6 separate regions of the Homo sapiens genome follow, and regions 2, 3, 4, 5 and 6 are each linked to region 1. The links are contacts of gene promoters, found by promoter capture Hi-C in blood cells and fetal thymus (Javierre and others, 2016). All regions are on one chromosome and are shown on one strand. Each heading gives the region's core, a stretch centred on a gene start or on the middle of the fragment in contact. The rest is flanking DNA. Distances are from core to core; before and after follow the strand shown. Region 1 holds the start of TEP1 (telomerase associated protein 1). Region 2 holds the start of EGILA (EGFR interacting lncRNA). Region 3 holds the start of RNASE3 (ribonuclease A family member 3). Region 4 overlaps LOC100507513 (a long non-coding RNA gene). Region 5 has its middle 37 kb from the start of RNASE1. Region 6 has its middle 17 kb from the start of RNASE1.

The links. Contacts are between HindIII fragments. The CHiCAGO score rates a contact against its expected background, and 5 or more counts as called.
Region 2: a fragment that was not itself captured here is called in contact with the fragment with the promoter of TEP1 in region 1 in 5 of 17 cell types (naive B cells, naive CD4 T cells, M2 macrophages and 2 more); the score reaches 7.7 in naive B cells.
Region 3: the fragment with the promoter of RNASE3 here is called in contact with the fragment with the promoter of TEP1 in region 1 in 6 of 17 cell types (total B cells, monocytes, neutrophils and 3 more); the score reaches 12.3 in total B cells.
Region 4: a fragment that was not itself captured here is called in contact with the fragment with the promoter of TEP1 in region 1 in 11 of 17 cell types (naive B cells, erythroblasts, total B cells and 8 more); the score reaches 11.2 in naive B cells.
Region 5: a contact is called between a fragment that was not itself captured here and the fragment with the promoter of TEP1 in region 1, in 1 of 17 cell types (M2 macrophages). The highest score is 6.3, in M2 macrophages.
Region 6: a contact is called between a fragment that was not itself captured here and the fragment with the promoter of TEP1 in region 1, in 1 of 17 cell types (naive B cells). The highest score is 5.4, in naive B cells.

The regions. Positions count from the first base shown.
Region 1 is chr14:20,411,943-20,415,985 of GRCh38, reverse strand. TEP1 (telomerase associated protein 1) reads left to right here and starts at 2,485. Exons shown (of 55, transcript NM_007110.5): 1 at 2,485-2,581. It also overlaps the pseudogene RNA5SP382. RefSeq lists enhancers at 2,282-2,331, 2,832-2,901, 3,452-3,621, 2,731-3,647. The HindIII fragment of the contact is 9,686 bases long and covers 1-3,923 here.
Region 2 is chr14:20,704,100-20,708,277 of GRCh38, reverse strand. It overlaps EGILA (EGFR interacting lncRNA), which reads left to right and starts at 1,337. Exons shown (of 4, transcript NR_174964.1): 1 at 1,337-1,531. The HindIII fragment of the contact is 860 bases long and covers 897-1,756 here.
Region 3 is chr14:20,889,402-20,893,720 of GRCh38, reverse strand. RNASE3 (ribonuclease A family member 3) reads right to left here and starts at 2,336. Exons shown (of 2, transcript NM_002935.3): 1 at 2,270-2,336; 2 at 1,373-2,039. The coding sequence starts at 2,034. The coding sequence ends at 1,552. All of the region lies in intron 1 of LOC100507513 (a long non-coding RNA gene), which reads left to right. The HindIII fragment of the contact is 4,045 bases long and covers 1-2,370 here.
Region 4 is chr14:20,867,618-20,871,934 of GRCh38, reverse strand. It overlaps LOC100507513 (a long non-coding RNA gene), which reads left to right. Exons shown (of 4, transcript XR_110261.4): 4 at 1,479-1,700. Among named protein-coding and RNA genes, the nearest start is that of RNASE3, 22 kb to the left of the region's middle. The HindIII fragment of the contact is 5,154 bases long and covers 1-4,317 here.
Region 5 is chr14:20,838,136-20,842,244 of GRCh38, reverse strand. No RefSeq gene overlaps it. Among named protein-coding and RNA genes, the nearest start is that of RNASE1, 37 kb to the right of the region's middle. RefSeq lists an enhancer at 1,588-2,088. The HindIII fragment of the contact is 3,601 bases long and covers 1-3,058 here.
Region 6 is chr14:20,817,502-20,821,978 of GRCh38, reverse strand. No RefSeq gene overlaps it. Among named protein-coding and RNA genes, the nearest start is that of RNASE1, 17 kb to the right of the region's middle. RefSeq lists enhancers at 1-249, 1,195-1,489 and a cis regulatory region at 1,060-1,643. The HindIII fragment of the contact is 3,836 bases long and covers 1-3,547 here.

The sequences.
Region 1 (4,043 bases), core at 1,236-3,735:
AGACCACTAATGAAGGTTTTCGATGTGAGTGGTACTGCCCTCTAGGGGGTGTTTTTGGCTTTCACAATAATTAGGATGATTTTACACATTTAAATGGGTAGGGCCCAGGATAGCTCAACATTCAGGAACTGTTTAGGACACTACCACACAATGAGTGACATTTCCGCATCTTTAACTTTGAATAACTTGCCAGTCATTCATGTAGCTGAAAACTTGTTTTAATTAGGATCTAACTTAATTTTTTTATTTTTTTTTTGAGTCGGAGTTTTGCTCTTGTCACCCAGGCTGGAGTGCAGTGGTGTGGTCTCGGCTCCCTGCAACCTCCACCTCCTGGGTTCAAGCCATTCTCCTGCCTCAGTCTCCCAAGTAGCTGGGATTACAGGCGGCCACCACCATGCCCGGCTAATTTTTGTATTTTTGGTGGAGACAAGGTTTCACCATGTTGGCCAGGCTGGTCTCAAACTCCTGACCTCAGGTAATCTGCCCACCTTGGCCTCCCAAAGTGCTGGGATTACAGGCGTGAGCCACCGTGCCTGACCATAATTTAATTTTAAATATAAACACAAGGCATTTTATGCGTAGTTTTAATACACACTGAACTTTCCAGGGATGCAACTACCATGAAAATCATGGGATGATCATACCTTGTTTTGTTTGAAAATCTGCCAAAAGCTATTTAGTATTCTGGAAAATCATACCACATCAGTAATTCTGTTCATGGTATTTGAATCGCCATTATAATGCCTGTATCATTCTGCATTTGTAGCTGTTACATTCCAGGTGATTTTATATACAGATGCATATATCTGAGTACCACATTGTGTCTTCTTGAATGTTATACACAAACATTTACATATCTAAACATATAGTATTTAATTATAAGTCATATTCTTTCTAGTATTCCTTTTATCTCCCATCCAAGTACTAACCAAGCCCAACCCTGCTCAGCTTCCAAGATCAGAGGAGATCGGGCGCGTTCGGGGTGGTATGGCCGTAGACTCCTTTATATCTCTTTAAGAGATTTTACTAATTTTTTGGCCAGGCATGGTGGCTTATGCCTGTAATCCAAGCACTTTGGGAGGCCAAGGTAGGAGGACTATTTGAGCCCTGGAGGTAGAGAGCCTGGGCAACATAGCAAAACCCTGTCTCTACTTTTTGTCTTTAAATTTTGGTTTAAAATTGTGCGTGGGGGTAAGTTACATTCTTTACGAATTATGTTTCAGAAAAATAAAAAGAGCTTTAAAATATTTGTTATAAAAAGGAAATGTTTTAGTTCAGGTTGCTATAACAAATTACCGTAGACCGGGTGGCTTAAACAACAAATATTATTTCTCACAGTTCTAGAGAATGGAAGTCCAAGATCAGATTGCCAGCATGGTCTGCCTCTGAAGATGAGGGTCTTCCTTGGGATTGCAGATGGCTGTTTTCTTGTATCCTCATATCGTGGAAAAAGAGCTAGCTAGCTCTTCCGTCTCTCCTTATGAGGCCACCAATCCCATTTATGAGTATTCTAAACTCCATGACCTAATGACCTCCCAGAGATCCCACCCTAAATACCATCGCATTGGGATTAGGGTTTCAATATATAAATTTTGGGGAGACACAAACATAAAGACCATTGCAGGGAGTGTTGGGACTGGTGGCAATAGAGGTTTCTAAGGAAGGAAAGGGGTACTGGCTCAGTTAATAGAGGACAGAATGCCCTCAATTCTGAGCGGAAGCTCAGCTGTTACCTGAGACTCAAGGGTACCTCTCTAAGGAAAGCAATGATATTTTCCAGAAGACAGCTAATCTGCTTTATATAAAGGCAGAAAGCATATTTCTCCTGCTACTATGTTTGGTCCTCTCTTTATGAAGCTAGGATTATTAACCTAAGGGTCACTTGTCTCTTTCCTAAGCCTGGTTCCATCTTCCTGGAAAGGGTTCAGCATTAATCATTCAGGATGGCTCCAGATAGATTCTGTGTGATCCACGGATCTCTCTTCTGATCAACAGGAGGGGAGGCACTTGCTCTCAGTTCAGCGAACTTTGATTGACTGATGTCTACACTTGGTTACAGGCGGTTGCTTTCCGCTTTCCGTCTCCTTTTAAGGAGTTCCTCAAAGGAACTTTAGGATGAATTGAGTCTGACCGTCTTTGATATTAGGAAGGAGAGGTGTACAGCTAGGCAGCGAGCATGCTAAAATCTTTTCCAGGAAACGGTGTTTGAAGAGTTAATGGGAGAAAAAAAGACGAAAATTAGCCAGAGGAGACGAATTTGGTAGAGGGGGAAGCCCTAGGGACAGGAGAAAATAGGACCAGAAAGGGAAAAAAAATAGAAACAATAACAAACTAAACTCGGGCCCCAGAAAAGGCGGCAGGGGTCCTGGGCATTCGCGTCGCAGCCCTGGCATGTCGTCTTGCCCGGCCCTCGGCTCGCTGCCCTTCCAGCAGCTGCTGCGCCCCGCCCGGGCCCGAGAGTCTCCGCCCGCACCGTCTCTTCTCAGATCCGCATCCGGCTCCTCCCCCGGCTGCCACCCTTCCCACCGGCAGAATCCAGAGCGAAGTTTCTGCTTCCTGCTGCGGGAATCGGACGCCCCAGGTCAGGCACCCAGGGTTTCCAGCCCCAGTCTAAGGTAGGGTCCGAGCGCAGGCAGAACTTGCCCTGGCCCTGGGTCTAGGGCGCTGGGCTCTGAGGCTGAGAGCTGGGTGGGAAGTGCCTGGCGGGGCCGGTTAGGAACCACCCGAGACTCAGCTAGGGGTGCATCCACCCTGCTCCTCCCGGCGGCTCCGGGAAGGGGAGGGAGTGTATACTGCGTGAAAGGGGAGGTGAGAAAGGAGGAGGAGAAGGCTGAAGGAGAGGGAGGGACAGGAAGAGAGACCACGTAAGAATCATCCCCTCTTACTTCCTTGCCCTGTGTGCCCATCGAAAGGGGACAGTGGCTGTCACCAACAAATGGTAGTATGAGAACCGTTTGTGATAATAGAAACCCAGACTGTGCTTAAATGTGCTAGACTACCATACAGCCACTTGAAGAGTGAGGTGGAGGCCGGGCGCGGTGGTTCACGCCTGTAATCCCAGCACTTTGGGAGGCGGAGGTTGGGGATCACCTGAGGTCAGGAGTTTGAGACCAGCCTGACCAACATGGTGAAAACCCTCTCTACTGAAAATACAAAAAAATTAGCCGGGCATGGTGGTGGGCGCCTGTAATCCCAGTTACTCGGAAGGCTAAGGCAGGAGAATCGCTTGAACTCGGCAGGCAGAGATTGCAGTGAGCTGAACAACAGAGCCAGACTCCGCCTCAAAAAAAAAAAAAAAAAAAAAAGGAAAGAGTGAGGTGGGTATTAATGTGTTAACAGGGCAAGGTCTCTGAGATATACTAAGTGCAGAATAGCATCTAACTTATGATCCTGTTTGTGTAAAGCAAAAGCAAAAGCAGTGGTGATGGTGAAGGCATGTATTTGCATATGCATAGAAACTGTGAAACTGTTAGTATAAAACTGTGAGCAATGTTTACTTCCAGAGAAGGGAACTAGAGATGGAAGTGGGGACGGAACTTTAACTTTCCATTTGTGGTTCAGCCGAATCTCCTTTCAAAAACTCCAGGGTGCAAAACAATAAAATGAGCAAAATAGTGAGACTGTCCTTTTAAGGATAGGACAGTCTCACTATGTTGCTCAAATAAACTGTCCTTATTTTTCTGTTTATTTTTGGCTTGAGATCTCTTTTAAAAAAAATCTGAGTCAATTCTGAGTTTCCCCACTCCTTTCCTTGGGGGCTTATATAGGGCAACGACATGAGCAAAGTGTATTGGGCACAGAAGCCATCATTTTTTACGTGTTTGTCACACTGACGTCCAGTGAGATATTGTTGTCCTTTTTGGCCCTGGATTGTTAGTCATTCAGGTCTTCTTGGAAGTGTTCTGTACTTTTGTCCCTAAGCTTTTTCACACTAAGTTTAGGTGGTTGACTTAACAATATTATTCCCAAAATATTTACATATGAATGAGAGATTAGCCTTTGTCCAAATAAGTAAGAAAATACATTCCTTTTTTTTTTTAAAT
Region 2 (4,178 bases), core at 77-2,576, 290 kb before region 1:
AATAATCAGCCTGCTTCAATAATGAATAGCCTCACCCTTTGATTTATTCAGTATCTAGCCGTATCCTTGCTTAAGAAACCCAGGGGCTAATCTTGAAATAAACCGGGCATGAATTTGAGATTGTGGAATCCTACATTCTCAGAAAAATCACTGAGGGGGGTTAATCCATAAGCTAGTTGCAGTCATGGTGATGCCAGCCAGACCTCCAGGTGATCCGTTACTGAAGATAGCCATCAGAGTAAGACATGCAAACCTGCACCCTGCACCACTCCTGCTCATAGTTTCCATGCCTCCTACTTCTTAAAATCCCTTTAGCTAGCCTAAAATTTTGAAATAGTCTTTGAGGCGCTAGTCCACCATCTCCTCAGGTTGCTAGCTCTTGAATAAACCTGCTTTTCCTGCACCAACTCTTGTCTTGCAAGTCTTGCTTTTGAGCAGTGAGCAGTGATCAGCTGACCCTTAGTTTGGTTACACTATCACTCAGGAAATTCCAAGCATTTTAGAAGGTCTGTGGCAGGAACCAGGAACTAAGTTCAAATTTATTTTTTATTATACCACAGGTCCCAACTCCCATGACTACCTGGATGGTGACAAAGACGAATTATCTCTTCATCCTTCTTTCTCACTCTAAATATACACAGACATGCTATTAGGAGGGAAAACTTTCCCTCTACCAACTTTGGTTCAGTGGGTGGGAGCCTGTGAATTAACTATAGACAGGTTAGCAGGGGGAAAGAAAACAAGTTGTATTCATAACTTGTGGAAGCATTCAGATGAAGAGGCTTGATGAAGAGCTAGAGACAGAAGTTTAGTTATCAACTCATAGGGGAAAAGAAGGAGGGAGAAATGACTTCTATAGGAAAACAAATGACTTTTGGGAAAGACAAATAGAAGCTTTGGATAAAGTTTTACACAATTTTCTTGGAATATCTCCTGTCTGGGTGAAGTAATCCTCACACGGTTAACAAGAATCCTGGACAAAAATATAATTATGAGTAAGTGTTAATCAGGCTACACTTTGACCCACTTCCTTGTAACCAAAACTCACGAACACTAGCTACTGATAATTTGCATTCTCATTGTTCCCATAGATAAGATCTTTGACATTAGAATCATAAGGCTTTTGTTTAAGAATTGTTTATGCAGATCCTGAATTCCGGCAGAACAGCTGACACCACCAACTTTAAAGAGCCCAACTGATGAACTGATCAGCATGAGAATACTGTTTTTTCATCTCTCTGTCCCATGACTTCACTCTGCATTCTTCAACCAATTAGTGATCTCTTATTTCCACCTACTCCAAATCCTTAAAAACAACAGCCTCAAACTCTTTGAGGAAATGGATTTGAGGTTTCCTTCCATCTTTTGGTTCAGCAGCCCTGCAATTAAACCTCTTTCTCTGCTGCAACCCAGTGTCTTGGCATATTGACATGCTGTGCACATCAGGCAAAAGACCTATTACCATTACATGAGGACCCCTCCGGAGGGAGATAATGGTGGGGGCATTTCTGGGAGGCTCTGCTTTAGTCAGGTGAGAGAAGTTCAGGTAAGATTTCTTTCTGTATCTGCTGTAATTCAAATGTTTTCAGTTTTGTCAGTTTTGCCCTTAAACATGTGCACACACACACACACACACACACACACACACACTCACACTTCCCTTCTTAAGCAGCTAGCATCTTCATATATCTCTGCTCCTGTCATGTGCGTCCATGTGAAGAGACCACCAAACAGGCTTTGTGTGAGCTATAAAGCTTTTTAATCACCTGGGTGCAGGCAGACTGAGTCCGAAAAAGGAGTCAGCAAAGGGAGATGGGGTGGGGCAGTTTTATAAGATTTGGGTAGGTAGTGGAAAATTACAGTCAAAGTGGGTTATTCTCTTGCAGGCAGGGGCAGGGGTTACAAGGTGCTCAGTGGGGAGGTTCTGAGACTCATTGTCTAGGAGAAGGAATGTCACAAGGTTAATTGATCAGTTAAGGTGGGGCAGGAACAAATCACAATGGTGGAATGTCATCAGTTAAGGCAGGAACTGGCTATTTTCACTTCTTTTGTGGTTCTTCAGTTGCTTCAGGCCATCTGGATGTATACTTGCAGGCTTGGGCTCAGAGGTCTGACATTTCCTGTCTTCTTATATTAATAAGAAAAACAAAACAAAATAGTGGTGAGGTGTTGGAGCGGCAAAAATTTTGGGGGGTGGTATGGAGAGATAATGGGCAATGTTTCTCAGGGCTGCTTCAAGTGGGATTAGGGGCAGCATGGGAACCTAGGGTGGGAGAGATTAAACTGAAGAAAGATTTGGGCATCAAGGGTGATATTGTGGGGTTGTTAGAAGGAGCATTTGTCATACAGAATGATTGATGATGGCCTGAATGCAGTTTTGTATGAATTGAGAAACTGATCAGAAGACACAAGGTCTAAATAAGAGAAGGAGAAAAGCATGTATTAAAGGACTAAAAATTGGGAGGGCTCAGGACATCCAATTAGAGAGTGCCTAAGGGGGTTCAGCATAATTATTTGCTTGGTTGGTGAGTTTTTGGGCGCTATCCTTGAGTTTTTTTTATGTTGTCATATACTAGGCCAGAGTGATTTTGGTAGAAACAACACTCTTCATTTAAAAATATACAGAGTCCCCCTTTTTCAGCAGTGAGTAAGTCAAGGGCATATTCCTGTCTTCTTATATTAATAATAAGAAAAACAAAACAAAATAGTAGTGAAGTGTTGGTGTCATGAGGGGAACAGGAAGCTCTTGGGTCCCATTTGCAAGTTGATTTTTGGGGGTAAGGAAAACTAGTGTGCATGTGCCTGTCTAATTAACAGGTAGACACATGTAGGGGAGGAGCCACAGGGGAAGAAGAGACCTTGTGTAAGGCGAAACTGGAAATGTAAAGTGAAAAGATGAGAAAGAGAAAAACTGGCCATGAGGGACAGAAGTTGAAACGCCAGCTGCTTGTTTAGCTACCTTATTAGCATAAGCATTGCCCTGAGTGATGGGATCTGATGCCTTTTGTTGGCCTTTACAGTGAATGGCCTCAGTTTTCTTGGAAGTAGAGCAGCTTTAAGAAGAGGTTTTATTAAGGAGGCATTAATGATGGAGGACCCTTGTGTAGTGAGGAAACTTCTTTCTGCCCATATAACAGCATGGTGGTGAAGGATGTGGAAGGCATACCTGGAATTGGTATAGATATTGACACGTAGTTCCTTTGCAAGAATGAGGGCTCGAGTTAAGGCAATGATTTCAGCTTGTTGAGAGGTAGCAGAAGGGGGCAGGCCTGTAGCCTCAATGATAGATGTGGAAGATACTATAGCATAGCCTGCCTTTGCCAGTGATTGGCGATTGGACCTGGAAGAACTACCATCAATAAACCAAGTGTGGTCTGGGTAGGGAACAGGAAAGAGGAAAATATGGGGAAAAGGGGAGAATGCCACGTGGATTAGAGGGATACAGTCATGGGGCTCAGATGCAGTATCAGGAATAAGATGAGAGGCTGGATTGAAGTCTGGACTAGGAACAATGGTAATTGTGGGAGACTCAACAAATAGTGAGTACAGTTGAAGGAGCTGGGGCACAGAAAGTATACGTGTCAAGCGTGAGGAGGAGAATAGATTTGGAAAGTTACAGGAACAGTAGAGAGTAAGTGGAGCATAGCTTGTAATTTTGAGGGCTTCCAGAAGTATTAAAGCTGTGGCTGCTGCTGCATGCACACATGAGGGCCACCCCAGAATTGGGAGGTCAAGTTGTTTTGATAGAAAGGCAGCAGGTCACGGGCCTGGCTCCTGTGTGAGGACTCTGGCAGCACAGCCTTGTATTTCAGCTGTGTGTAAGGAAAAAGAATGGGACGAGTCGGGGAGTGCTAGTGTGGAAGCGGTCTCCAGGGCGTTTTTGAGAGAGTGAAAAGAAGAATGGGGAAAAGACTTAGGGTCCATGGGATCAGTTAAGTTGCCCTTTCTGAGCTTGTAAAGTGGTTTCGTCAGGATAGCGACGCCTGATATCCAGAATCGGAAATATCCAACAGTGCCTAAGAAGGAAAGGAGTTGTTGTTTGGTGGTGGGGACTGGGGTTTGAGAGATCAGCTGGACACAATCAGCAAGGAGAGCACGTGTGTTTTCATGAAGAATTATGCTGAGATAGGTAACAGATGAGGAAGAAATTTGGGCTTTGGAGGGGGATACATGATATC
Region 3 (4,319 bases), core at 1,087-3,586, 480 kb before region 1:
CAAACTCAGTGTCTCTGTGCAAACTTTTAAGTTCACAGCCCGACCTTGGAGAAGCAAGATCTCAATAGCTTCTCCAGAGGAGAGACTTCAATACAGCTGCTGTCTGATGCCAATTAAAGCACCATTACTGACATGGAGTCATCTGAGGAATGGAAATTGCTGTTTCTCAGGGTCTGGAAGAGGAGGAGAAATATAGAAGTCAGAAATCTCAGACTGAAGGACCAAGGTGCAGATCTGATGGCATCGTACCTCTCTTGCATTCTGAGTCGGGCCATTCAAAAAGACCCACTCTGTTCCTGGAACAATCACTTGAATGCTGCACCTGTCCACAACTTGCAGGAAGGGGCTTCCCCTTTTTCTCCCCTGTTTCTCATGGATTCCTGAGTGAAGCCCTGTGTTGGAGTCCAGGGCAGCGGCTCTCATCATCCATTTCTTCTCTCTCTGGGTCTACAAATCCTGAATTCTCGAGGCTGTGCCCTTCCTGACAGGTGTTGAATGAACCTTTGACTCGCCATTGGGAACATCTATGGAGGGCAGAATGGGCAGGAGCCAACTCACCTTCATGAGTGCTCCCACTTCCTCCTCCTCCTCCTCCCCCTTCTCCTTCCCACGTGACCAGCGGCTCCCCATCTCCAGGACATGGAACTTTTGGGAAAGATGTCCACCTCTCCTCCAGTCAGCATTACAATCTGTCCTTACTGCTGTCGGAACAATTTATCTTATTGCACATTTGACTCAAACCCTGGTTCCACCTCTATTACGATTGCTAATAGCTGGAGACTTGATGTGCCCATTTAAAAGAAATATCCCTGAGGCTAAACTTTTCTTTATCTTGGTTTCACCTTATTTATAGCATTCTTGACTTTTTCTACTTTCTTCTTTTCTATTTTCTATCATAACGTTCAATTCTATCAAAATTTATCATTCATAAATCATAATGAAGCACGTGCATTTTCAGCTGATTCACTGCAGCTCTTTTTTTCTTGGGATAGAAATCATGTCAATAAAAACCATAGTCGGACCATAAAGCATCAAATGGGACCTCAATATCAAATTGGGCTCAATTCTGGAATACAACTAAAACAAGTGGAGATCTATACACAAGTTATAGGTTGGTGTTGGGGGAGGAGTCAGTGGATGGAAAATTGCTTAGAGGAGATATTAAGGCTAGGGAGACCAATGCTAAGTTGACTCAATTGGATTTTTTTTTAAGGCAGGCCTGGAATCAGGTATCACATGAAGGATGATGGGGGAATTAAGGAATTTGGTCAGATATTGAGGGGGAGAGATTCATGATAAACCCAAATCTCTAGAGCAGATTGTCACTAAATGACAGCAGAGCGGCCGAGGAAGACACACAGACACTTCCAGATGAATTTGCAAAGCAGTTTATTGCAGGGTTCACAAGGGACTTCAGCTCAGGAAAGCTGAAGGGGTATGGAGACTGATGAGGACAGTTGCTGATACCCAGAGTACATGGAGGGATGGGATCTTGGCTATGATTGAGGAGCTTGGCAGATGAGTGATGATGAGGACTGCTGATACAGGAGCTTAGATGGTGGTATCCAGGTGAACTGGAACCACAGGATACCGTGGAGAATCCCGTGGATCTCTGTTGTCACATGCAACTACATAGAACCTCCTTCCTGGTCTGTCTGCATACGTGCAGTTTGAAATATTCTGTGCACCTGGATTTATGAGGTCACAGTGGAGTAAAGGCACCCGGAATCTACTCCGATGACAATTGTTGAGAGTTCTGTTATGAGGGCAGCGTATACTTTGGTTACCACAAACATTAACTACATTAGCAAAAGTTGTACGAAGAAAAGTATTTTGGTTTTTGCAACGCCATCGATAATTGTTAATTGCCCGCATTGCAATGGTGCATCGAGGGGGGTTCAGACTGATGTGCTGGATGGCAAACCACTGAGCCCTCGTAAACTGTGGGGGTCTGGCATGGAGTGAGCCCTCCACACCCATAAGCCCCAACAGAAGAAGCAGACAAATTTGGGAAGTGAACAGTTTTGGAACCATGTTTCCTGTAAGAAAAGAAGAGAAGTAACTACTCCCCGATCCGGTCTCGGTTATGACACACTCTATAGTGTCTCAACCCACAGGCCCCTCTGCTGCCACTCTGGGGTCGCATTTCCTTTTCTTCCTGTCCCCAAAGTGTGCCACATCTCCTAAGCACTAACTTCAGCTCACCTCTCCCTCAGGTGCTGCCCTGTCGCTGCCCCTCCTGTCCCAGCTCTGGGGATTGTTGACTTACCCAGTCTCTGAGCTGTGGCTCCTGTGAGAACTGATCCAGCTGGTTGTTCTGGGGTTCAGGGGCAGCTGGTCTCCCCTACTTGGAACTGTTTAAATAAAGCTTCCCTTGGTGGGTCTGGCCATGCAGAAACCCACAGATTGACACATGGTCCACTTGTGCAATCATCCTTTTTATTTGATGACTTGGCTGAGCAACGGATACCCAAGGACAGCCCTGCTGCTCTTTCTGCTATACGGACTCTAATTCCAAGTCATCCTGTGTTAGACAGAGTTTTGCCGGTGGGATCTGGACTCTGGGTGAAAACTATACGCTGCCGGCAGAATGACCACAGATTTTATAACTGTCCTCTGGCAGGCCCCTAAATGACTAAATGACACGAAGGCAGGCATAGTAGTTAGGAGAAATAGAGCCACAGAGGGCTGTTTGCCCAGGAGAAACCCAGCTTCCCTTCCATTTTTAGTAATATCCTTGGTTCTCTCTCACATAAATGCTCTCCATCTCATCCACCACTCTTGCTGGAAACTTGAGCTATTAATTTCTTGGGGCACAAGATTCTGTAGATAATTAAAACAATCTGCTCCATACAATTGAGGAATTTTTTTCTTTACTCCTCTTGCATTGGATCCACTTTCTCTTAAGTCTTGCCCTGATTATTGATTCCACTTTGTGTAAAGTTACATAACCTAAAAACACACCGAGGACAGTTGTAAAATCTGGCAGAGGATGAATGAACATTTGGTGTCATGAAAGATTCCAACCTAGCACTCGGTATTCCTGTGATCTTTTCAGCCTATGGTATTTTCTACAAAACAGTGTGTTCTGGGGTTGTCATTCATCTTCCTGGTAAGTTTCATTTTGTGATATTAACAAGAATATGGTTCTGTATTTACAAATGAACATTTAAGGACAGAGCACTGTATTCCTGAAAGTATAGAGGTCAAGTGTACAGTTTGATACACAAAGCATACATTTATTCTTGGCCCTCAGAGAAACACAGGAAAGTACTTGTAGACATATAATTGTATTACAGTGTGATAGAGGTAATAGCATTTGTGTGAACATGGTGTCATAGGGACACTGCTGGTGAAGGAAATCACTTGGCTTGAGAAATAAGGAAAACTTCAAAAAAAAGTTTATTTCAGCAGGTCCTAAAGGATAAGCAGGGGATTTTCAGGGGATTTAGAGAAGAGATGAGCATTCTGGGCACAGGGGATGATGTGGGGAAATTGTACAGAGGTGAGAAGTGAATTGCAAAGGTAAGGCCTGGGTACTAACAGATGTTAAATCTGGTCTAGCTTTGAGATTAGAAAATGGAAAGTAGACCCTTAAATGATATAATATACCTTCCAACAGTTAATCTGCCTAATTTTTACTACCGTCCAATTTTCCTGTCATTTAGAAATGCAATAATTTTATCACTGGGGTCCTTAGGTAAATGTGGACACAATGGTGACCTGGTGAGGACTCAATGCGCAGCTAATATTGCTCTGCCTTGAAGTCCTGTTCTGGCCGACATTCATTAGCAGCTTTATCATGAGGCAAGTTTATTTTTTCATGTATATTGTGTGGAGATCATTTTTGTAGGTGATGAGAATGTAAAGGTGAATGATACGTAGAGTATCCCCTCTGTGATGCTGACAGCCACACTGGCTAGAAACATTTGCACTTAAGTGTCTATAGTATGAGGCAAAAGACATAGACTGCAGCCCCAGGGCAGGTACTTGGCTAAACAGTGCTTCTTTTCAGCATACACAGTGCTATTTATGATGTTTGGTTTGGAAGATAAAGTTTGACATTGGAATAGTTCACTAAAAGTTTTCATTACTGTCTTATCTTTAAAAATCACATGATGGTGGTTGGTGCACCATTGGTGTTGTATCAATTAGAGCTGAGTAACAGCTGCGTCTGTGGAAGGGGCTCTAGCTCAGGGCTGTTCTCTGACTCCACTCTCCCTCCTGACTTTTATCCTATCTGTTCAGTGATGACACCTGCCTGGCTCCTGAAGACATCTGTGCTTATGACATATCAGACTTATTGAAGTGTCTTAAGC
Region 4 (4,317 bases), core at 993-3,492, 460 kb before region 1:
GGTTCCTGGGTTCAAGCAACTCTCCTTCCTCAGCCTCCTGAGTAGCTGGGATTACAGGCATGCGCCACCACACCCAGCTAATTTTTGTATTTTTAGTAGAGACAGGGTTTCACCATGTTGGCCAGGCTGGTCTTGAATTCCTTACCTCAGGTGATCTGCCCTCCTCAGCCTCCCAAAGTGCTGGGATTACAGGTGTGAGCCACCGTGCCTGGCCAGGTCCACCTCTTGAGCCACACAGATCTGCTTCCCCAGACAGGTTCAAGAGACAACTCCTCCAGGCTTCCTACCAGTCTCTGTTCCTGAAGGGAAACTTAAGAGGAAGTTTACTGTGGACAAACAAACTGTAGTCACTGTCAATGCCGCAGATCTTGGGGCTGTAACTAGCACCCATCCACTCCTTCCTTTACTATGTATTCTAATCTCCCTTTACCCTTAGGTCTTAGTTGCTTATTCTTATTTACCCTCTCACCAGTTCTGAGGGTTAAGCCCTTGGTAATCATATTTTTCTCAGGCTGAGGTGGCTACACACTTACATTCACAGTTAAAATGGAGCATGGGAGTAACAGAAAGCACCCAAGTAGATTACTTGGGTTCTACATAAATTCTTTTCTGCCTCTATTGGGTAAAAGCAGCCCTACCTCCCTCCTGCTAATCAAGGTTACTTAGCCTTGACAGTATGGCAACTCCTCTTCACGTCTGCTGGTCCCTAGACACGAGAAATCCAAAGTGTCCTGGGAAAAGCTGTAGCTTGCAGTTCAATGAGACCTTTCTGTGTAAGTTGGCAAGGGTGCATCTTCTTTGGGGACCTGGACCTTTGACCCTGCAGAGCCTAGAGTTACAGAAATGAAAGCACAACATATCTGAGTGGGTCAATCAGAGAGATGGTAAGTGGAGCTACTCCTGCTTCTACTTCTCGGTTCCTGGATCCGTGTATTCTTCCTATTGGGAACACAGTACCCTTTACAGGCCTCTGATTTAATAAATACACTGCATCCTGAAGAATGATACCCCATACTTTCATAATGTTACCTCTTAGCTGCTGCTTCAGCTGTGTCTTTGGAAAGTCAGTTTCTCTTCTTTCCTCCCTCCCTCCTTTCTTTCTTCTACCCTCCTTTCTTCTTTTCTCTCTTTTCCGTTCCTTCCTTTCCTCATTTCTCTTTCTCTTTCTTCCTCCCTCCCTCCCTTCCTTTCTTTCCTTGAGCTGAAATGGCTTGCACCTTCCTTTTCCCACATAAACACCAATGGACTCTTCCCATTAGTCCTCTAGTTTCTTCCAGAGGTAGGTGAAATTATTGAAGAGACTTCAGCAGAAATTAGGGAAGATCTTCTGAACTGTGATTAAATGGAGTGTGGTCGTTTACCTAATTATCCTTGGTTATCACCTTCTGTGATTGTGATTTTACTTATTAAGCAGCAGAGCCATCTGGCGAAGACCTGCATTACTTTTTAATCTTATGCTTGCCTTTTGTCTTTCCCAGATTTGATAAATGGTTGGTCCTTATGATCCACTGATGCAGACTACTTGGGAGGTCCCAATGTCCTGGTGCCCAAAGGCAAGATCATTTTTCCCCCTGCAGTGTTTCTGTCTATCATGATGATGTGAGTGGGCTCTTATTGGGGGTGCCTAATGCTGCCATAAAGAAAGAGTTTTCTTGGCTTGGTGCAGTGGCTCACGCCTGTAATCCCAACACTTTGGGAGGCTGAGGCAGGCGGATCACGAGGTCAAGAGATCAAGACCAACCTGGCCAACATGGTGAAATCCTGTCTCTACTAAAAATATAAAAATTAGCTGGGCGTGGTGGCGTGCACCTGTTGTCCCAGCTACTCGGGAGGCTGAGACAGGAGAATTGCTTGAACCCGGGAAGTGGAGGTTGCAGTGAGCCGAGACTGCGCCACTGCACTCCAGCCTGGCGACAGAGCAAGACTCCATCTCAAAGAAAAAAAAAAGAAAAGGTTTTATCTTCTGAATTAAGCTGTATCCCTCTGAGCTAGTCAGGGAAATAGGCAATCTTTTTTTCTATGGCTCATAGATACTGGTATCACTGGTTATCACTTGTGATAAGTAAGCAACATCCTTCCTTCATAGATTTATAGCTCAGTGTTTGGCATATGCCCTATAATTATTATCACAAGCAAGGTGTGCAGAGGCAAAGTTTTCTAGGATACAAGCACCTGTCTGTTTTGTTCACCTCTCCCTATATGGCACTTAGCATAGTGCTTGTCATATCAAAGGCACTCAGAAATGTTAATTAAGTAAATATTAGTGATGGAAGAATGTCTTTCTATTGTCTTCACATATGAATAAAAAGGGGGCCAGGGGCAGTGGTTCATGCCTGTAATCCCAGCACTTTGAGAGGGTGAGGTGAGTGGATCACTTAAGTCCAGGAATTTGGGACCAGTCTGGGCAACATGGTGAAACCCCATCTCTACAAAAAATACAAAAATTAGCCGGGCGTAGTGGCACACGCCTGTAGTCCCGACTACTCAGGAGGGTGAGGTGGGAGGATCGCTTGAGCCTAGGAGGTGGAGGTCACAGTGAGCCGAGGTTGGGCTGCTGCACTCCAGCCTGGGAGACAGAGCCAGACCCTGTCTCAAAAAAAAAAAAAGTTAACTAGATAAAACATCCTTTGTTTCTGGATGTCCAAAGAGTTGTTTTTATTGTTTCACTGAAATGTCATGGATTAATATAGTCTGTATTCCTGTATTAGTAGCCTGCTATTACTACACAAAAACATTCGAATGCCTTCTCTTTTGCTGTATTTTAGACATTTTTCAAAAGCCTAGGTTTCTGTGTTGCTTTTGCTTATGCTGAGACTCGGTGATCTCCACCTGTTTCTAAAACCAGCTCCCTATCTCCTGCTGAAGAATGTTCCTTTTGTTCTTTGACTTTTGATTCTGTGTCTTGTGTTTTAAGGTTCAGTTTAGGAATCTCAGTATACTTTAGGTTGATTCCCTGGAATTCAAGTGAGATGCATTTTTTTCTTTTTTTGAGAAATTAATTAACAATTTATGCTAATGTGTGGATGTTTAAGTTCCTGGCATTTGACTGAGCTTTGTAATGTGTACTTTCTACACTGTGGAAAGAAGGAGTTCTAAAAATATATATATAGCCAGGTGCAGTGGCTCACGCCTCTAATCCCAGCACTTTGGGAGGCCGAGGCGGGTGGATCATTTGAGGTCAAGGGTTTGAGACCAGCCTGGCCAACATGGTGAAACCCCGTCTGTACTAAAAATACAAAAATAAGCCAGGCATGGTGGCAGGTGCCTGTAATCCCAGCTACTCGGGAGGCTGAGGCAGGAGAATCGCTTGAACCCAGGAGGTGGATGTTGCAGTGACCTGAGACTGTGCCATTGCACTCCAGCCTGGGCAACAAGAGTAAAACTCCATCTCAAAAAGAAAAAATATATATATTCTCAGAAAGAAAATATATCTATCTATCTATATAGATAGATAGATAGATTTCAAAATATGAATTTTTTTTTCCTATCAAGATAGAAGATCCTGTTAATAAATTTGGAGAACAATTAGATATTCAACAAGTAGACATTGTGCATTTCTACTTAATGGACATCTGTATTGCCAGAATGCCATTGAACATGATCCTGCTTTTAAAGTAGTGGTTGTCCAAGAAAGGAGTACGAGGCTGAGAAGATTCTCTTAGAGTGACAGAATTGCTAGATTGAACAAGTTGATTCAGAATAGGTTGCTATACGTCTCTCTTACGGCTTTCAAGGATTCAGCAGGCCATTCTGGACAAGATCTACAAGAAAACATAGGTGTTTCATTTTGAGTGATAACCAAAGGTTAAACCCAAAACCCTTAGGTTCAGGATTTCAAAGTATAGGCCATACTAAGAGAAAATATTTATGACACATATACACTTGATTAATGCAGCATTTACATTTGTTTCTGTCAATAAGCTAGCAGGGAGCAAGCTAATGTGTAGGGTAATAGTGACAGACATACACCAACTTAAGAGGAACAATCAGTGTCTTACTGTCAGGCTGCCACTGATGCCCAGCTAGTGCATCATTGATCCTCACCTACAAGATTTTCTTCCTCATTTCTGCATAAGGAGGCTAAAGTTACCTCAAAAGCTGGTGGTCGTGGTCTGCAGAAAACTCAGCTTAGCATTCCCCTTTAGAGATATGGGGATACTGATGCTCAATGTTCAATGACAGCACAGCTGCCTGGACTTTATGATAAAACTCTCACTAGAGATTGAAGTTTATAGGAGCCTTAGCCTAGATTCTCATTAGTTCTTCCACAGACTTTCTCTCAAAAACAAGCAACATGTTTATATTACCCACTTTTCA
Region 5 (4,109 bases), core at 9-2,508, 430 kb before region 1:
GTCAGGAAAGTTCTTTCCCTCAACATTACATAACTCCTACTCATCTTTGGGTATGCACTCAGCTGTGACTTACCATAGGAAAAATTTCCTAAACCTGTCAGAGTGGGGTAAAGTGCTCCTTTGGGATCTTTAGCACCAGGAGTCTTCTCTTCTCCCCTCCCTTTCCTTCCTTCCTTCCTTTCCTTTCCTTTTCTTTCTTTTTTTTTTTTTTTTCAGAGTTTTGCTCTTGTTGCACAGGCTGGAGTGCAATGGCGTGATCTTGGCTCACTGCAACCTCTGCCTCCCGGGTTCAAGCAATTCTCATGCCTCAGCCTCCCGAGTAACTGGGATTATAGGCATGTGCCACCACACCCGGCTAATTTTGTGTTTTTAGTAGAGACAGGGTTTTTCCATGTTGGTCAGGCTGGTCTTGAACTCCCGACCTCAGGTGATCCGCCTGCCTTAGCCCCGCGAAGTGCTGGGATTACAGGTGTGAGCCACCGAGCCTGGCTTAGCTCTAGGAGTCTTTCACGTAACATTATAATTTCCTGTTTATTTGTTTATATTCCTCAACAGACTGCAAAATCACTGAAGGTAGGAACTGTGTCTCACTCACTCTTGTATCCCCAGTTCCTAACACAACCTCAACACTGGGGAAGCCCTCAATTAATGTTGGGTAAGTAAAGGTACTTATGACAAACTATTAGTTAGCATCCAAGTCCTGTCCTGTACTTATGCAACTGATTTTGTTTCAAGGGCACAAAATTTATACTTGTGAAATTTCTTGTTACTGGATATAATCCACTGCTTCAGACTGGTAAGAACTTTGGATCTTGATTCCATCATCCATGTTATTTGCTCTCCCTGACTATCATGTCATCTATTATTGTGATGAGATTTTGCATCTTCATCCAAGTCACCTGAAAATATGATGAATAAGATAGGCCTGTGGAGACAGGTCTGTGTCACATCATCACATGATCTGGTTTAACCAGTTAGGAAGGTAGTCATTGCATTGAGAGACTTTATCAAGTGCTTTGCAGAAGTAAAGATGCAAAATATTCTCCACATTTCCTAATTCTACCTAAGGCAGGAGATTAGATTAGTCTAACATGATTTCCATGTGAATCTGTGCTGTTATTTATTATCATGTTCACTACAAATCCAAGCAGTAAATCATTATTTTTAATACACTTGCCTGGAATGTTTCCTGGAATTAGTGTATTTTTTCTGGTTCCACCTACTTCTCATTTGTTTCTACTTCCTCTGGCCCTTTAACAGGCCAGAGCACCCAGGTATCATATCCAATCCTGTCTTTATCTTAGGGGATCTCTCAAGAATATCCCATTCATGTGCTTTTGTCCCAGTCATTCTTGTGCTCATCCTCATTCTCTGGTTTTGAATATTCTGCAACATACTTGTGAAGTGGCGTCATTTGTCTGGGGTAAATACCCGAGGTTCATCGTCTCCGTCTCGCATCAAGCAAATTGAGAATTCAGACAAAAGAAGTGGGTTTAGGGCCAGGCGCGGTGGCTCATGCCTGTAATCCCAGCACTTTGGGAGGCTGAGGCGGGCGGATCACCTGAGGTCGGGAGTTTGAGACCAGCCTGACCAACATGGTGAAACCCTGTCTCTACTAAAAATACAAAATTAGCCAGGCATGGTGGCGCATGCCCGCAATCCCAGCCTCTCAGGAAGCTGAGGCAGGAGAATCGCTTGAACCCGGGAGGCAGAGGTTGCAGTGAGCCGAGATCGCGCCATTGCACTGCAGCCTGGGTAACTGAATAAGACTGTCTAAACAGCAACAACAACAACAAAACAAACAAACAAAAAACCAAAGCCACCTCAAGAATTACTCATTCCTTGGGTATCTCCCATGTATATAGGAAATAAACAAGTAAATAAATTTAAGTTTGTTTTTCTCTTGTTGATCTGTCTTTGGTTTCAGGGCTCCTCTCCAACTAAGAACTCATAAGATTTCAGTAAAAAAAAAAAAAGTTTCCCCTTCACCACACTGCCTAATTTTAACCTATACATTTTTAAAAACCTTTGTTACATAAATAAAATGTGTGTGAATCAGATGAGGTATGGCAAGGATAGGCAGTAATAAAACATGAAGGCCGGGCGCGGTGGCTCACGCCTGTAATCCCAGCACTTTGGGAGGCTGAGGCGGGCGGATCACGAGGTCAGGAGACCGAGACCATCCTGGCTAACACGGTGAAACCCCGTCTCTACTAAAAATACAAAAAATTAGCCGGGCGTGGTGGCGGGCGCCTGTAGTCCCAGCTACACAGGAGGCTGAGGCAGGAGAATGGCGTGAACCCGGGAGGCGGAGCTTGCAGTGAGCCCAGATCGCGCCACTGCAACAGAGCGTTGACTGGGCAACAGAGCGAGACTCCATCTCAAAAAATAAAAATAAAAATGAAAAATAAAACATGAAAACAAGGAACAAAAGAGGTAGAATTGGCTGTGGGTTCATTGAATGCTGTACCTTCACCTGAATTGCCTGGGGCCAAAAAGCATTTCAACTATTCAGTTATCTCCTTTCCCTTTAATTCTACGCTTACCAAGCAACCTTCTAATTAAAATCTTAGATTGCACTGGTCATGCTGACATCTGTATTTCAGGAAGTGTGACAGTTATCCTTTACATATTAAAAAATATCATTCTAGGTTATATCTGAGTAATCTATGAGTTTCGTTAAGCCCCCCCTTTTTTTTTTTTCTGAAAACAACGTCACAACTTGAGCCAGCAAACCTAAGCACCATGATATGTGATGAATAATTCACCAGGTAAATGCTATATTGTGAATATTATCACACTAAGTCAGAAGGCATTTTGTGTTGCTATCCTTATTTTGTCTGCTTTCAAACATTAACAATTTCCAAATAAAATGTTATTTTTATAACATAGGTCACATTAGTTTTTTTTGTGTGTGTCTTTATCCTCCTTTTCTTCATAACACAATCGTCTAATTGATATATAACTACTTCAAATATAGAACTATTTTCAAAAAGATAATCATATATGGACCTCTGTGTCTGGTCATTTCTATACTCTTGCTATAACTCTAGAAGCTTAAAAATGATCTATGTTTTTTCTCCTACTTAATTACTTACAGAAAATGCTACAGTAGTTTCTTTCTTTTCAGATTCCCTAACCACCATTTTCTCTCATATCTTATTGATTTGGCCAGGACTTCCGAAACAATATCAAATAATAATAAATATTACTGGTATCATTTGCTGATTCTAATTTTAGGAGGATACGTCTAGGTAGATAAATGTTGGTAAGTCCTAGATACTCTTTCTGACTTTTTCGTGGTCAGCTTGGCTAATTGATTACAAAACCCTAAGGGTAACTGCCTGACTGACTAGATTTGGCTCGTCAAATGAAACCCACTAGTCATGCGGATCTAAATACCCTTAGTATAGTAAGGAAACATTTTTTCTATTCCTTTAAAAGATCAACATGCATAGCCGGGTGTGGTGGCTCACGCCTATAATCCCAGCACTTTGGGAGGCCAAGGTGGGCGGATCACCTGAGGTTGAGAGTTCGAGACCAGCCTGACCAACATGAAGAAACCCCATCTCTACTAAAAAAAATACAAAATTAGCCGGGCGTGGTGGTGCATGCCTGTAATCCCAGCTACTTGGAAGGCTGAGGCAGGAGAATAGCTTGAACTCGGGAGGCGGAGGTTGCAGTGAGCTGAGATTGTGCCACTGTACTCCAGCCTGGGCAACAAGAGCAAAACTCCGTCTCAAAAAAAAAAAAAAACAAAAAAAAACAATCAACATACAACATACTTTTTCAATCTTGTCAAGTCATTTGTTTTAAATAAAGTCTCTTGAAGTGATTATGGTTTCCAAGTACTTCTGATTATCAAGACTGTCTGGATTTCTGGGTTTTGCTTTGTTTCTTTTCTTGAGAAGATATAAACCAAAAATAAAATTCTAAGCCCCCCAACAATCTGAATGGACCCTCCCCTCAGGCAAAAGCATTCTAAAGTTAACCTGAAAAACTAGTGCAGGCCATCATGGGAAGGGGGAGTTGGACACACCTCATTATACCCTCCTCCCTTTTGGAATTCAGGCTTAGCTGACCAGCCTTAACATCAACACAGACTTTAA
Region 6 (4,477 bases), core at 380-2,879, 410 kb before region 1:
CCACCCAGATTGATAAACTGGCTCATCTGATCTTGTGTCCCCCACCCAGGAACTGACTCAGTGCAAGAGGACAGCTTCAGTTCCCTATGGTCTTGTTTCCTAACTGACCAGTCAGCACTCCTGGCTCACTGGCTTCCCCCCACCCACCAAGTTGTCAGTAAAAACTCTGCTTCCCTGAATGCTTGGGGAGACTGATTTGAGTAATAATAAAACTCCGGTCTCCCACACAGCCGGCTCTGTGTGAATTACTCTTCCTCCATTGCAATTCCCCTGTCTTGATAAACTGGCTCTGTCTAGGCTGTGGGCAAGGTGAAACCACTGGGTAGTTACATTCCTCCTTCATGAAAAACACATTCCATTTCTTCCACAACCACCTTTTGATTCTGCACCATGTCTAATATTTTTTGTATAGTATTTTCTTTGTTTCTAGTCAGTTAATCTTCTGTGACTCCGTAGCCTTCTACAATGAGACATTAATTTACTTGACATGTATTAATTGGAGACCAACTGTATACATGGCACATGATCAGGAGATATGTGTGAATAAAACACCCTTTCTGTTCTTGAAAACAGTGTAATTTGGGAGACTGAGAAGAAAGAATTCCCACTGAATGTGAGACATGGTATAATAAAGTGTGAAATGCTGTGGAATCACAGATAAAAGAGCAGGCAAGGGCACGCTATTGTTTGACACAGAAGAAAAAATGGTCTCTTGCTCTCCTATTAGAAGTGAAATACCTTTTTTTTTTTTGAGACAGAGTCTTGCTCTTGTTGCCCAGGCTGGAGTGCAACAGCACGATCTCAGCTCACTGCAACCTCCACCTCCCTGTTTCAAGCGATTCTCCTGCCTCAGCCTCCCTGGACCTGGGATTACAGGCTCCCGCCACCATGCCTGGCTAATTTTTGTATTTTTAGTAGAGACGGGGTTTTGCCATATTGGCCGGGCTGGTCTCAAACTCCTGACCTCGTGATCTGCCCGCCTCGGCCTCTCAAAGTGCTGGTATTACAGGCGTGAGCCACCTCGCTGAAATACCACTTTTATAGAAGGCAATTGACATTATCTAAAGCCTTATCAAAAGTCCATGTTCTCTAAACACATCTAGGAATATATGCCAAGGAAGTAATTGGGCAAGGTGTAGTGGATGCGGTGGTGCATGTCCCAGTTCCCCCACTTCAGGAACACGGCACTCATTCCCTCCACTGACTAGTGATGGTGATGAACAGCTAGCTCTCAGCTGAGTCTCTTTCTCTCTGGGAATAGCCCTTTGTGTTGACAGAGGAGAAAAGAAAAAACCCAGTCAGGCAGGCAGTTAGGGTGGGTCCTTGGTTTAATCCTTTCAAACAAAACAACAGCCTGCAGGCACAGATACAGGAATTTGCATAGGGGCTTGCCTAAGACACGCCCACAAACATGAGAAGGGCGACCCAGGTGACTTGCTTAGACATGCCTGCAATGGAAAATTCCGTCCCCTGACACACGTGCAATAAGGGGCCCGCACGCACATTAGGAAGACACGGTGGGGCTACGACACATTCACCCCTTATGCAAAGGAGACTCCCAGCCCTCATGGGTTTTCTATAAAAGCCTTTGCATTCAACTGTAGAAACAACAGTCCTCTTCCAGGTCCCCTCTCTGCAGCGGAGAGCTTTCTTCTTTCGCTTATTAAACTTTCACTCCAACCTCACCCTTGGTGTCCAGGATCCTTAACTTTCTTGGTCATGAGACAAAGAACTTAGGATGATGCCTTGGGCAGCGAGAGACTACTACATTGTGGTGCATTGGCAAGAGTGTAACAGTGGCAGAGAACCATCCTGCTAAAAGTGAAGCCTCCTCCCCAAGGGCAGTCAACATCTAATAAATGGTAACGGGATATAAAGGCTTGGTCCCTTTACCTTAATTCAGAACAACTCTGAAGGTCAATCTAGCTCTAAAGAAAGCTAGAATACCTGTGGGATTGGCCAAGGCCTTTGTTGTGACTGCATCAAAATCCTACCTCTTCTGCCCGATAATGCTTCCTTCACTCCCTCTGCAGATATTGCCCCAAGATTGCTGTGCAGTAAACTTTTTTTTTTTTTTTTTTTTTTTTTGAGACGGAGTCTCGCTCTGTCGCCTAGGCTGGAGTGCAGTGGAGCGATCTCGGCTCACTGCAAGCTCCACCTCTCGGGTTCACGCCATTCTCCCTCCTGTCTCAGCCTCCTGAGTAGCTGGGACTACAGCCACCCGCCACCACGCCCGGCTAATTTTTTTGTATTTTTAGTAGAGATGGGGTTTCACCGTGTTAGCCAGGATGGTCTCCATCTCCTGACCTGGTGATCCGCCCGCCTCAGCCTCCCAAAGTGCTGGGATCACCGGCATGAGCCACCGCGCCCGGCCTGCAGTAAACATCTTAAATGCACATCTTAATCTCAGTGTTTATTTTTGTAGAGAATCTGCCCTATGACACAAGAGTATAAATGCAGACATAGAAGAGTTTTTATTGAAGGCAGTGTACATGTAACAAGTTGTAAATCTTATAAATGTCCCCAAATACAGAATTTGTTTAATGAATTATGATATATCCATAACATGAAATACTATAGAGCCATTTAGAGTAATATAGATATATGTTGACTTGGAATATATAGGATGGAATTTTTTGTGTGTGTGTGTGACAAGGTCTTACTCTCTCGCCCAGGCTGGAATGCAGTGGTTTGATCATGGCTCACTGCAGCTTCACCCTTTTGGGTTCCAGCCATCCTCCCACCTCAGCCTCCTGAGTAGTTGGGACCACTAATTTAATTTTTTTTTTTTTTTAAGTAGAGACAAGGTCTCACTATACTGCGCAGGCAGGTCTTGAGTAGCTGGGACCACAGGTGTGAGCCACCATGCCCGGCTAATTTTTTAAATTTTTAGTAGGGACGAGGTCTCCCTCTATTGGCCAGGCTGGTCTCGAACTCCTGGGCTCCAGCAATCCACTTGCTTCCGTCTCCCAAAATGTTGGGATTACCGGCGTGAGCCACCAAGCCCAGCCTAGGATATGTTTTTAAATAAACTTAAAAAAATTGAAATATACACACAGAAAAAACATAATTACATAGCTCAATAAGTTAGCTCAAAGCAAACAGATCTGTGTTCACCACTATCCAGGTTAAGAAATTACATATTACTAGGACCCCAGATGCATTTGAAGAGAAAAAGCAGAATCTGAAGCAGTGTTACAGTACTTCATATTTTATAAAATCTTACACATAGACAAAAGTGTGGAGAATTACACCCTAAAATGTTAATAATGTTGTAGGTGATGAAAATACAAGTAGTATATTTCTATTAATTTAGCAGGAATTAAAAAAGATACAAAAGATACAAAATTATCTTTTTCAATATTCCATATCTAGGTCACTTGGTAACTTAGAGAAATATATACTGCAACTTCCTAATGAATATTTATTAACTGCTGACTTGTTCCCAAAATTCATTAATTAGCACCCTCTAATTCTGTATTGTAAGCTCCATTACTGGATTTATCTGTAATTTTGGGGTCTCTGTTAATACTATATTCCTGAAGCTTTCTATTTAACTCAGTGAATTGATGATGGAACCACAGACAGACCAAAGTTGCTTTTTCCTACTATAGAAATCAACATAGAATGAATTTATACATTAAATTACAGCACTTACTCTTCATGCTGCCTTAGCTTTACAATAAAAGCTTTAAATTCCTGTAAGTGTGAATACACTGTGGCATTTAGTTTCTTCATAGAAAGATAAAACTTTGTGAATTGTATTTAGTGTGAACATACACAAAATCCATACTGGGGTAAAAATCCATTTTTTTGCTGGTCTTTCACAGGAATTTAGGAGTATGGGGGAAGGGGTATAGGTGAGAACTTTGTCTCTTTCTGTGTATCTGTGTTTCTGCACTAAGGTGTGGGGTTTGTTTTTTCAGTTAGACCAAAGGCAATTGATGAATACACTCACAAAAGTAACTCTGGCTCTGTGAGAAGCATAAAAGTCTTAAGAAACTAGATTTCCTATTAAGATCCAACCTTTCTTCCTTAGAGATATTGAGGGGAAGATCTTTAGAAGGAGATAACATTAAAAAACAGACGGGCCAGGCGTGGTGGCTTACTCCTGTAATCCCACCCAGCACTTTGGGAGGCCAAGACAGGCAGATCACCTGAGGTCAGGAGTTGAAAACCAGCCTGGCCAACATGGTGAAACCCTGTCTCTACCAAAAATACAAAAATTAGCTGGGTGTGATGGCAGGCACTTGTAATCCCAGTTACTTGGGAGGCTGAGGCAGGAGAATCTCTTGAACCTGGGAGGCAGAGGTTGCAGTGAGCTGAGATTGTGGCACTGCACTTCAGCCTGGGCGACAGAGTGAGACTCCGTCTCAAAAGAAAAACAATAACAACAACAAAAAACAAACAAAACTCAATGTTTTAACTGGGAGCCATCTTAGAGATTGTTGTTCTTTACTCTTTAGGGGATAATACT